4 separate regions of the Homo sapiens genome follow, and all the other regions are linked to region 3. Evidence: promoter capture Hi-C in 16 types of primary human blood cells and fetal thymus (Javierre and others, 2016). All regions are on one chromosome and are shown on one strand. Each heading gives the region's core, a stretch centred on a gene start or on the middle of the fragment in contact. The rest is flanking DNA. Distances are from core to core; before and after follow the strand shown.

Evidence for each region. The method cuts DNA at HindIII sites, captures the fragments that hold promoters and counts their contacts. A CHiCAGO score of 5 or more calls a contact.
Region 1: a contact is called between a fragment that was not itself captured here and the fragment with the promoter of APMAP in region 3, in 1 of 17 cell types (total CD4 T cells). The highest score is 5.8, in total CD4 T cells.
Region 2: a contact is called between a fragment that was not itself captured here and the fragment with the promoter of APMAP in region 3, in 1 of 17 cell types (total CD4 T cells). The highest score is 7.0, in total CD4 T cells.
Region 4: a contact is called between the fragment with the promoter of ZNF337 here and the fragment with the promoter of APMAP in region 3, in 3 of 17 cell types (total B cells, monocytes and total CD8 T cells). The highest score is 9.8, in total B cells.

Annotation. Positions count from the first base shown.
Region 1 is chr20:24,028,074-24,030,773 of GRCh38, reverse strand. No RefSeq gene overlaps it. Among named protein-coding and RNA genes, the nearest start is that of GGTLC1, 41 kb to the right of the region's middle. The HindIII fragment of the contact is 2,244 bases long and covers 256-2,499 here.
Region 2 is chr20:24,102,809-24,105,508 of GRCh38, reverse strand. The region is part of intron 1 of WAKMAR1 (wound and keratinocyte migration associated lncRNA 1); the gene reads left to right. Among named protein-coding and RNA genes, the nearest start is that of WAKMAR1, 7.8 kb to the left of the region's middle. RefSeq lists an enhancer at 1,761-2,700. The HindIII fragment of the contact is 4,651 bases long and covers 1-2,700 here.
Region 3 is chr20:24,991,303-24,994,002 of GRCh38, reverse strand. It overlaps APMAP (adipocyte plasma membrane associated protein), which reads left to right and starts at 1,252. Exons shown (of 9, transcript NM_020531.3): 1 at 1,252-1,409. The coding sequence starts at 1,315. RefSeq lists enhancers at 698-1,198, 1,111-1,350, 1,481-1,560, 1,581-1,640, 1,199-1,699. The HindIII fragment of the contact is 12,703 bases long and covers 1-2,294 here.
Region 4 is chr20:25,695,507-25,698,206 of GRCh38, reverse strand. ZNF337 (zinc finger protein 337) reads left to right here and starts at 1,354. Exons shown (of 5, transcript NM_015655.4): 1 at 1,354-1,448. LOC107985400 (a long non-coding RNA gene) reads right to left here and starts at 1,166. Exons shown (of 2, transcript XR_007067557.1): 1 at 1,044-1,166. RefSeq lists an enhancer at 1,841-1,950. The HindIII fragment of the contact is 13,942 bases long and covers 1-2,700 here.

The DNA of each region.
Region 1 (2,700 bases), core at 128-2,627, 960 kb after region 3:
GTCTGTCTACTATGCATTGTGTCCAGGGCACACTCACACCTAGAGACCAAATCCACACTGTGCAAAATATCTGCACACAATGGAAAGAGATAGAGGCAAGCTTTCACATTTAATTTGGCAAATAATCGGATTTATAGAAATATCTGGATTTTTGTTTTATTCCTCTCTTTATATCTTGTCAGTTCTGTCTCTCTGTAGAGCCCTGACAAAAATGGAGCCCAGGGTAGGAAGTAGTCAGCTCTTCCTCCTGAAGCTTCACTCCATGACACCCTGGTGACCTCAATGGAGACAGCTGTCCCAAATCATATTAGTTAATTGCATCTTGTACCAATTGAACATGATGACTCTTCCCCAGGCTCTAACAATCTCTTCATTGAACAACTTGCTTGTCAGATGCTTTGTCTGTTTGTATTGCTACAAAGAAATACTCAAGTCTGGGTAAGTTATAAAGGAAAGAGGTTTATGTTGTCTCCCAGTTCTGCAGGCTGAACAAGAAGCATGGTGCCAGCATCCACTCTCTTTCCAATGAGGTCCTCGGGTTGGTTCCATACATGATGAAAAGTGAATGGAAGCTCGTGTGTGCAGAGACCACGTGGTGAGGGGATGGGGAGTGCCAGGCTTGTTTTGACAACCAGTTTCTCAAGGGAGCTGATAGTGTGAGAACTCACTCTTCACTGTGAGGACAGTACCAAGACATTCATGAGGGATCTGTCCTCAGGATCCAAACACCTCCCCTTAGGCCCCCATCCAATATTGGGGGTCAAATTTCAATATGGAGTTTGGGGGACAAACATCTAAACTATAGCAGATGCTTTTCCTGCTACTAAAAGACACAGTTTAGCTGTGTTTGGCCACCCTTCTAGAGCTGATTAGAAATCTACTCACCACACAAGTATACACTGACAGCTTTCTGGGGAGACCTTGGTTATTGCATCCAGAGTTTATATGATTAAATTATAACCCTTGTCTTCTGTCTTCTCTTCCACCCCACTCCACCAGTTTCTATATAGCATCCGTCTGTTTCTATATCCTTTGTAAAATGAGATGCCTCAAGACCATCTAAAAACAGTGCCTGTCTGTGGCTGGTAGATCTTATGCATTGGTAGAAAAACATTCAGCCTGTGGAAAGGAGAGAGCAAAATTAACTTAGATGCTAAATTTTATCAGAGCTAAATTCATATTCCCCTACGGTTGGGGCAGGAAAGTCAGGTACATTTTACAAGTTCAGAAGGAAGAAAATTCTTTGTATTATTGCCTCTCAAGTTAAGTCAAATATTGGTAGCCTGGACTGGCTACATAAAATAAAATCTCATCAAGCCACAGTCAACAACTCTGAAAATAATGCTCCAAACACTACGGTTATATAACAAGAAGAATCCTTGTGTATGAACTGAATTAGACTTCCTTTCTCCAGGGAAATGTAATGGAATTAAGTCTCCTCTGTTCCCATTTAGAAGTTCATACATAATCATAGCATGTTATTACACAGACAGAAAATGAAAACTTCAAAGCCAGAGCTGGTACACAATGCAATTTATTTCTACTGGTAATAAATTGCCCCCTAGGTTATGGAAGAAGAATATGACGATGGAGACTAAGAAGAAACTAATGTCCTTTCTCAAAACATTGCAACAGCTGTGCCCATCTTGTGCGCCTCTCCAGAACTGACAGCATTGTTGCTGTTTTATTCCTTCAAGTGTTAAGTTCACCAACATCTGCTGATGGAAAGATGACAAAATATCTCTTGATCTCTGCCAAATTGGCCTGTGGATAGACACTTTTTAAAGTCATAAACTTTTTATCAGCCTATGCAGGATATTATTCTAAAATTTATTGTAGGCCGGGCGTGGTGGCTCACGCCTGTGATCTTAGTACTTTGAGAGGCTGAGGCAGGTGGATCACCTGAGGTCAGGAGTTCAAGACGAGTATGGTCAACATGGTGAAAACCCGTCTCTACTAAAGATACAAAAAATTAGCCAGTCATGGTGGCGGGCGCCTATAATCCCAGCTACTCGGGAGGCTGAGGCAGGAGAATCACTTGAACCAGGGAGGCAGAAATTGCAGTGAGCTGAGGTCATGCCATTGCACCCCAGCCTGGGCAACAAGAATGGAACTCCATCTCAAAAAATAAAATATAAATAAATAAATAATAAAAATAAAATTTATTGTAATAATTAAAAATTTGATAGAAAGCATTAGCCAAGACAATAAGCCAATCCATCAACCTCAAGAAAGCCAGGCAAAATCTTTCGAATTTCTTTAATACACTTGTCATGATGATATTGGGGAAGCCTGGCTTGAAATCCAAGTGGCCTTCTCCAATTCTTAGCCCTGTCACTTTTTACCAGGGTTTGAGCTTTGATAGTTTGCTTAACATAACTGGGTCTTGATTTCATGGAGAAAATGCTACATGTTAGATAGAGGTTTCATGGGAATAAATTGAAATACTGCATGCATGACACCCAAGGGGCATCCGACACAGAGAAAATACCTGAAGCTTAGTCCTCTCCCCAACCCCTCTCCTCCCTGTACTTTGCTTTATGGTATTGAGTCCTGAGTTTATCTCTGTGAAACACTGTTGCAAATAGACTTCTAATTCCAGATGGTTGCCTAAACTCAAGAAATCCTATTCTTTTGTTCCAAAAAGTTATAATGCTTTAGATATATCAAAAAAGAAAAATAGCCCATAGCCCAGCTACG
Region 2 (2,700 bases), core at 18-2,517, 890 kb after region 3:
GCCTCCTTTCACTAGTTTTGGGGTTGCAGCAAGAGGACCCCTCACCTATGCATCACCAATGCTTCTCTAAACTCCATGTTGACACCCAGGGCTCCTACAAGAGCTCCCTGCATGGAGGGTTTTGTCCCTGTGCATCAGTCTGGGGGGCCTATCAGCCCCTGCACTCCATCACTCAGCTCAACTACCCCTGCATAGCCCACTCATCAGCGCAGGATTCCTGGTGTTGGGAGCACGGCCTCTGTGCAGGCCCAGGTTTCCCAGGATGAGCCTGCTGCCTGTTTGTTTCTGTGCAATGCTGACTCTCCATGCTTAGGTTCATATATTTCTACCAGCAGTGAGGTGTCCAGACACCACATCCATGTGTCACCACAGAAAATAAGGAGCCAGTTCTGGAACCCCACAGTCTTTTATGGGATATCATAGTCTTTTCCCCATGATTCAATTTTATGGGATATCATAGTCTTTTCCCCATTATTCCAGTCCATCCTGAGAGGGCCACTTTCTGCAAGCTGCACCTCCCCACCCCGTTAAAGCATCGTGAGATCACCAGTCATTCAAAGGCAGTGGTCCTCATGCCACACCCCAGCAGCACACTCTATACCCAGGGAGACTTCTTACTCCAAAAGCATCAGAACCAGATGATTTTGGACTAAGGACCACTGGTTTCCCAGTGCTTCTAAAAATCTAGAAGATTTCACTTTTTTGTCTGTGATGCCTTACACACACAGATGCACTTGTTCTCTGCATATGGCGTTTTACAGACTGAGAGCTCAGAGGAGCTGGAACCCACAAGTGGTGGCCATAGAGGATACGGGCAGCCTGGGCTCCTTCAACGACTCCATTCATGGATGTAGAGAAATGCTCCCTTTCATGGCAGCTGCAGGTGGTATCTTTGCCCCTCTTCATCCCACTGCCTCACAGCCCTGCCCTGGCCTCACTGATTCCAGCACTGAACTTTCCATCACAGTTCTGTCTCCGGTCAGTCTTTTCCCTGGGGCACTGTGGGCTGACCATGTTTCAGGATCAGGCTCAGGATGAAATCGAGTCTCCCCTCACCAGTGCCCATGAGCACATCTACACATACATGTCTCAGGACAGTCCCTGCTACAGAGCAAAGGCAAGGGCTTTTCTCTTTATCCACTGCTTTGTTCCAAGCCTGTTGCCTTTATGGCAACTGTTGATGTTACTGTGAATCTCTCTAATTTTGTCTCAGTCTCAAGCTAGCACTAGTCTAGATCAATACAAGTTACTTGTACTGATGCGGTCTGTGCTGTGGCAGATCGTCTGGTTCAGGACCCCCCATGAGCTCCAGGGCCTTTACAATGCCATGCCTCCTGTTGAGAGAAGAAGTCTCTTTCCCAACCCCTGAACCTGGGCATTCCCGTGGCTGCCTTTGATGAATGGACAGTGGGGGACAATGAACTGGGCAGGCTCCTGAGCCCCAGTATAGGTTACAGCCCCCACCTTCACTCCCTTGCAACACTGAGACCACAGTGTTGTGGAGAGTCCTGGATCAGCGTCCTGGAAGATGAGAGGCTACTTGGGCACACGGAGGTACCCCGACCAACAGCCATACCACCTGCCAGCATGGCCATGGGGCCAACTTGGGCCCTCCAGCCTGGTCAACACCAGTGGCTACAGCACATGTAGGAGCCAGGGGATACCAACAGAAGAACTGCCCAGGCTGTCAGCCCTGGAGACTGTGAGAAATAATAAATAATTGTGAGTTTCAGCCCCAAGTATTGGGGGGCTTTATTACCTTTTACTGCATAAAAGGTTTTCAGGAAATCTGGCTCTCCTTCATTATGCTGGCTTCTACCCACTTAGAAAGGAGTTTAGGCTGGGGATCAGGCCCTACACTCCCAGGCATTGAGATAAGGACATTTTGGATGTTTTGTGACAGCAATCCGTGAAAAGCAGACTCCGACTCAGCTGTTCCTGCCACCTCATCTGTAACAAAATGAAGCAAAACTCCCAGCTTCTGCAAATGCTGAGAACAGATCACAGTAAACTTGAGGTCATCTAACATAGAGAACTTTGGATATTTGGCTAAAAGCAGAAGAAGAATTTGGCTCTTATTCTATTTCTTTTTTTAATCATTAATTGGAATAATGCATCTCAAAAATTGTATGCACAGAAATGTCTTAATATTGAAGTTTCCATCTGTCTTTACCCCCCTTCCTGTACTATAATCTCATTCTAACAGAGCAGAAAACATCTTTCTAAACTTCTACTGAAATAATAAAGTACTTTCAGAGAATCCATTCATTCATTTTAACAGACACATTTCAGCATACTTATGTTCCAGATTGAGTGGTAAAGTTTGTAGAAAGAGCTTTGGACACCATCTCTCCCTATGCTGAAGAATCTGTCAGCCTAGATTGGAAAAGAGATGATTAAAGAGTCTGAGAATTGATGTGACAGAAGGATATTTATATAATAACAGTCATCATGAAAATGCATAGAAAAGGCACAGAGGGCAGACTTCAAGGAGGCCAGGGAAAGGTTTTTTCCTGAGGAATTCATGAATGAATTTAGTCATTCATTAGTCATACTGAAATAACATTTTTGGTAATGTCATGTTAGGTGAAAAGGTTATCACAAGAAAGAAGTTGGGGAGAGAGGAGAGAGAGAGAGGCATTTAGGATGGCTCTTATTTCAGGGTCATAGGAGTTTTTGGGTGCTAGTGGGGATGAGGAA
Region 3 (2,700 bases), core at 3-2,502:
AGCTGTATTGGCTATTCTCAATGACACAGAATGAAGTAAAATGTTGTCGAGGCCTGAATTATTACCTGGGATCTCTGGAGAACTGGATTTGCACAGCTCTCCACTTCCCTCAAGCTGGTTCTTCCGCTCTTTGAATGAATAAATAAAAAGCATTCACATGGAATTCTAGTGCCATCTAGCATTTAAAAAGGTAAAAGCCTCCAAGAGGAAATTATTTCTTAACACTGCATTTTGAACATGGCTTTTCCAGAGATAATTCCTCGTGCCACTGGTAACGGGCTTTGATTTCTTCTGCCTGTCACTTCCTCCAGATTCGATTCCTCTTTGAATCTCAAATGCTCTCACAAGATTCAGCTCTTCCCTTTTGAAGCAATTATTACGTTTGATAATTTTACGTCTATTTTATGATGATGATCTGATTAAAGTCATCTTTCCCACTAGTTTAATTTCTATAAGGAGGGGCCTTGTCTGTGATTTGCCCACCATCGTCTCCCAGCACCTGGGAACATTTCTGGTTTCCTGCAATACTGTTGAAAGAACAATGCCTCTCTATGCTTTCTTAAACTTTGTTAGTGATAATTTCTACTTCTACCTGGACTTTACTTAAGGGTAATCCTTAATAAACTTTATCAAAACTTAATAAACTTTATCAAAACTTAATAAACTTTATCAAATGTCTGTTGTAATCGTCACAAAAAGATTTAATACTCAACATCTGGCCTTAACCAGAGGGAAACATTTTCTAGCCCAAGTTTTCCCCTTAACCGGCTGAGTCGGGGAAGGATGTAATTTTCAGGCAGAGGTGACTTCGTTCCAAGGGTGTGAATGCATTATTTTTGACGCTGCCTGTAAGAGCAGGGTCGCTGACACTGAATAAACAGCGCTATCCTCTCCAACGATAAAAGTGGCCAACATCTCGTGCTAGCAATTCCCAAGTGCGTCATGAGCATCCCCGTCCTCAGAAACGTGAGACGAAGGCGGCATGCGCAGGCACTGGGCTAGACGAGCCCGAGGTTGAACCACTCGCGTTCTGGGCCCCGGAGTCCGAGACAGGCGGGGACCCCGGCAGCTCCCGGTGCTATCTCTGAGCGGGTTCCGAGCCCCACTTCCGGGCGGTCAGAATTAGCCTCAGAGCGCCGAGCAACGACGCGCCGGGGACCTCCCGCCCATGAGGCCGGAAGGGGCGGGGAGAACGCTGCGGAATGGTCCCTGGGCGCAACGTCATTTCCGCGTACGGGGGAGGGCGGGCCTGGAGTCTGAGCCGGCGCCGCTCAGTGTGAGGTGGTTTCTGCGGGTGAGGCTGGCGCCCGTACCATGAGCGAGGCGGACGGGCTGCGACAGCGCCGGCCCCTGCGGCCGCAGGTCGTCACAGACGATGATGGCCAGGCCCCGGAGGCTAAGGACGGCAGGTAGGGCGGACTCCCAGACTGGGCGCTGGAGCCGGGCCGCTAGGAGTGGAGGGCGACCCTCTTGGACAGCGGCGACGGCAGTAACAGTAACCTGGGGATGCGGTGCCGAGCGCGTTGTCAGAGTCCTCTCGTTTCATCCCCAAGAAAAACTCATTTTTCCGAGGAAGCAGGCTCCGACAAGGCGGATGTACCTGCCAGGTCTTTCAGGTTCGGGTGCACCCTGCGCCCAGTCGCCGCGTTGTCCTCGGCTCTCCGGACCCGAGACCGCCTCGCGCCGCTCCTTTGCCTTCCCTCCCTCACTCCTGCCCCACCCTGCATAGCGGTTGCTTCCTCGCCTTTCCCTCGCTCCCCTCGCGCTGTCCTTCCTTTGGCTTAAATGATCCCCCTGAGCACAGCTACTTGGCCGGGGCCCTGCGTGTTCCTGGTTCCCCGCTCGCAATTTCCCGAAGGGAGGAGGTCCCACGAGATGCTGGGGTCCTGCCTCGTTATCCGGCGAAGAGATGGCTTCTACACTTGCTCTTCTGCACCTGCCCCCCTCACGCTGCGTGACCAGTCCTCACCGCGGTTCTTGGAAAGAGTGGAGAACAGTAGTGACATTGTAGGCAATTTTTGTGAGAATTCAGCCTGGCAGTTTTTCCTGATAGGGATGGAGAAACATAGGAAACTGTAGTTGTTGACACCTAAGAAATATCAGGTTTTGCCCTTTGCCTCCTCTCCCATCTTTCAGAATATAAGAATGCTGTGTTTTGTTAGCTAAAAACTGAATCATGATTCGTAAGCATAGATTTCAATATAAGATACTTAAAATTCACTTTTCAATTCTGTGTCCTGAATTTCATAACTTTTAAGTTTCAGGGAGAATCAAGAGGCCCCATAGACCAAGCTTGAAGTTGTGGGACTGATTGACTTATATTTGATAGAAATACTGGAAATATTTGTTCATCAGTAGTGTGCCAAGAGGTGGTGGGGTACATATGAATGAGAGGCAGTTTTTGCCCCTGTAGACTGAGTTTATTGACTGATGATAAGAGGAACACATTTGAAGGAGAGCGATGGCAGGAAGGAGCATTTAGGCTCTAGAGAGGCAATTTAGAGAGAAGACTTTGCGGTGATAGTTGACTCCTTGGGCCAGTGAAAAGATCGGGAAGATGCTCCCATATATCCTGACCAACCATCCTGCGTTGCCCTGGACTGGGGTTTCCAAGGATGTAGAACTTTCAGTGCTAAACCTGGGCAAACTGGGACAATCTGATCACCCTACTTACTGTGAATATTGTGAATTAATCATCTG
Region 4 (2,700 bases), core at 105-2,604, 700 kb before region 3:
GGAAAGTGTGGTACATTAACACAATGGGATATTAGCCAGTCATTAAAAGAATGAAATTCTGTCATTTTCAATAGCATGTATGAAAATGGAGGACATTATGTTAAGCGAAATGAGGCACAGCATGACAAATATCACATGTGCTCACTCATTTGTGGGGCTAAAAACGTGAACTCATGGAGATGGAGAGTAGAATGAGATAGTTAACAGAGGCTGGGAAGGATGGTGGGTAGAGGAGATAAAGAGGGACTTGTTAATCGATACAAAAATACAGTTAGAATGAATAAGATCTAGTAGTTGGTAGCACTATACAGTGACTATAGTTAAGAACAATTTTACTATATATTTAAAAATAAGAGAGAATTGGAAACTTCCTAAAACAAAGAAATGCTAAATGCTTGAGGGGATGGATACCCCAATCACCCTCATTTGACCATTAAACACTGTATGCCTGTATCAAAACATAACATGTACCCTATAAATATGTACAACTAATATTTATCCAGAATAATTAAAAATTTAAAAACCAAAAGAGAAAAAGCAAACAGCAAGTATACCTAGTAAAGGCCTGAAATATAAAGTCTACGTGGTTTGGCAAGCCACAAAAGATATCAGCATATTATACACCCTACATAATGAAAGAATTCTGGCATTGATGCATAATTAGATAAATGGGGGAACAATTAGAAATTGAAATGCAAATGTAAATTGAGTATACTGAATTATGTAGCTGAAACCTTAAATTATTTGGTAAAAGACTATATTTTTAATAAATTTAATGGGAAATTAATAAAATATTAGAAAATTTTAAAAATAATTGTATATTTACAGTGTGTACCTGGAGAAAAATTAAACCATTGAGAGATCTAAATGTGAATGATAAAACCACAAAATCCGTAGGAAAATCAGAGATCAAAAGTACTACATAGCAAAAAAAAGAAACAAAAGAAAAAAAAAAGACATACCCATAATCAAAAGACAGTGGGAAAATTATTTACCTATATCATAGAAATGGGAAAATATGCTTAATGTATGTATAGGGCTACCTAAATAAAAGAAATCGCCGGTTCTGAAAGGATCCCTCCACGTCCAAACGACCATAGGCTCGCCCCACCTGTCAGAGAGGAGTCCTTCCGAGAAGTCCTTCCAAGGATTCCGGGTCGCGCAGTCCCGGGTGGACCGCTATGACCAATATTCTGGGGCGTGTACCTGGACGACTCCCGAGGACTCTGGGGAGTGTAGTCCACCGAGGGGATGCGACGCGCAGGGTCGCATAGCCTCCGGGCCGCGCCGAGGATGCTGGGTAGCGTAGTCCCGGCCGCGCTGAGGATTCTGGGTAGTGTAGTCCCGGGCGGCGCAGAGCGTTCCAGATCCCTGGGCGTCAGCGAGCCGTGAGATGCGTGGTCCACCATCGGTGACCTCACCGCCTCGGTTCGCCCTCAGCCGCCCCGGTGAGCTGCGCTCCTGCGGGTCCCTCTCTGCAGCGCGCCCTTCCGGCGCAGGAAGAAGGGCCGGGAAGGCCTGGGACGTGAGGGCGCTGCTGGGGCCGTAGCGCGCGCTCCTCCAGGCCCGGCGTCTCCGCGTTCTGGGGAGGGGCGGAGACCCAGGCCGCGCCTTGAAGTGGGCGGTGGGGCTGCGGCTTGCCGAGCGCCCCGGGTCTGGGCCGCCACTCAGTCTCCGTTCCCGGTTGCGTGTAGTGGCGGCTCGGGCGGTGAACAGCCCGGATTTCACAGGGGCGCCGAGCAACCCAGGTCCTCTTGTGCCAGGGTCGCCGCTCCTCGGGTGGGGACGGGCCAGCGGCCTAGCGAGCTGCCACGGGGGTCTTTTGGCCGGAGGTGGAGGGGGACTCGGCCACAGCCAGGGTCCACTGGTGGGGTGGGGGTTACAGCCATGAGACGGATGGGCTAGGTCCGACTCGGGTTCCCTCCGACTCTGATGCTCCAGACTTTATTGTGGGAGGCGGGACAGGGGAGGACTTCGCCCGCGTGTTTTGGGGAAGGGCCGCTGCTTTGGGTTGGGAGCACCCCGCCTTGGGACGATCTTCCGCGGATAGGAGTGTAGGCCGGGACCAAATGTCCTCGCACGGGCACGTCTAGACGTGTTTTGGTGGGGGGGGGGGGGGATCTGCGTGGGGCAGCGTCCGCGGGAGGTGAGGTGGCTGTGGGGACCCAGGTGGCCTCTTCCCTGGGGCCTTGCTAATGACGGCAAAATCCGGGTTCTGCCAAAATATATTTAAAAAGGTTTATTCCTAGTCAGTATGAGTGACTGTGGCCCAGGTTATTCAGCCTCAAGAGGTCCTGTGAAAGTGCCCGAGATGGTCAGGCTTGCAGGTTAATTTTATACAATTCAGGGAGACAGGAATTTCAGGTAAAGTCATAAATCAGGCTGAGCAGTGTGGCTCATGCCTGTAGTCCCAGCACTTTGGGAGGCCAGGAGTTCCAGAGCAGCCTGGGCAGCACAGCAAGACCCTGTCTCTACATGAAATTAGAAAAATAAAAAAATTAGCGGGGCGTGGTGTCCCATGCCTGTGGCCTCAGCTACTTGGGAGGCCCAGTCAGTTGAGTCCAGGAGGTGGAGGCTGTAACCAGCTATGTTGGCTGCACTGCACGCTAGCCTGGGTAACACAGCGAGATCCTGCCTCCAAAAAGAAAATCATAAATCAATAAGAGAAAGATATACACGGGTTCCTCCCAAAAAGCTGGT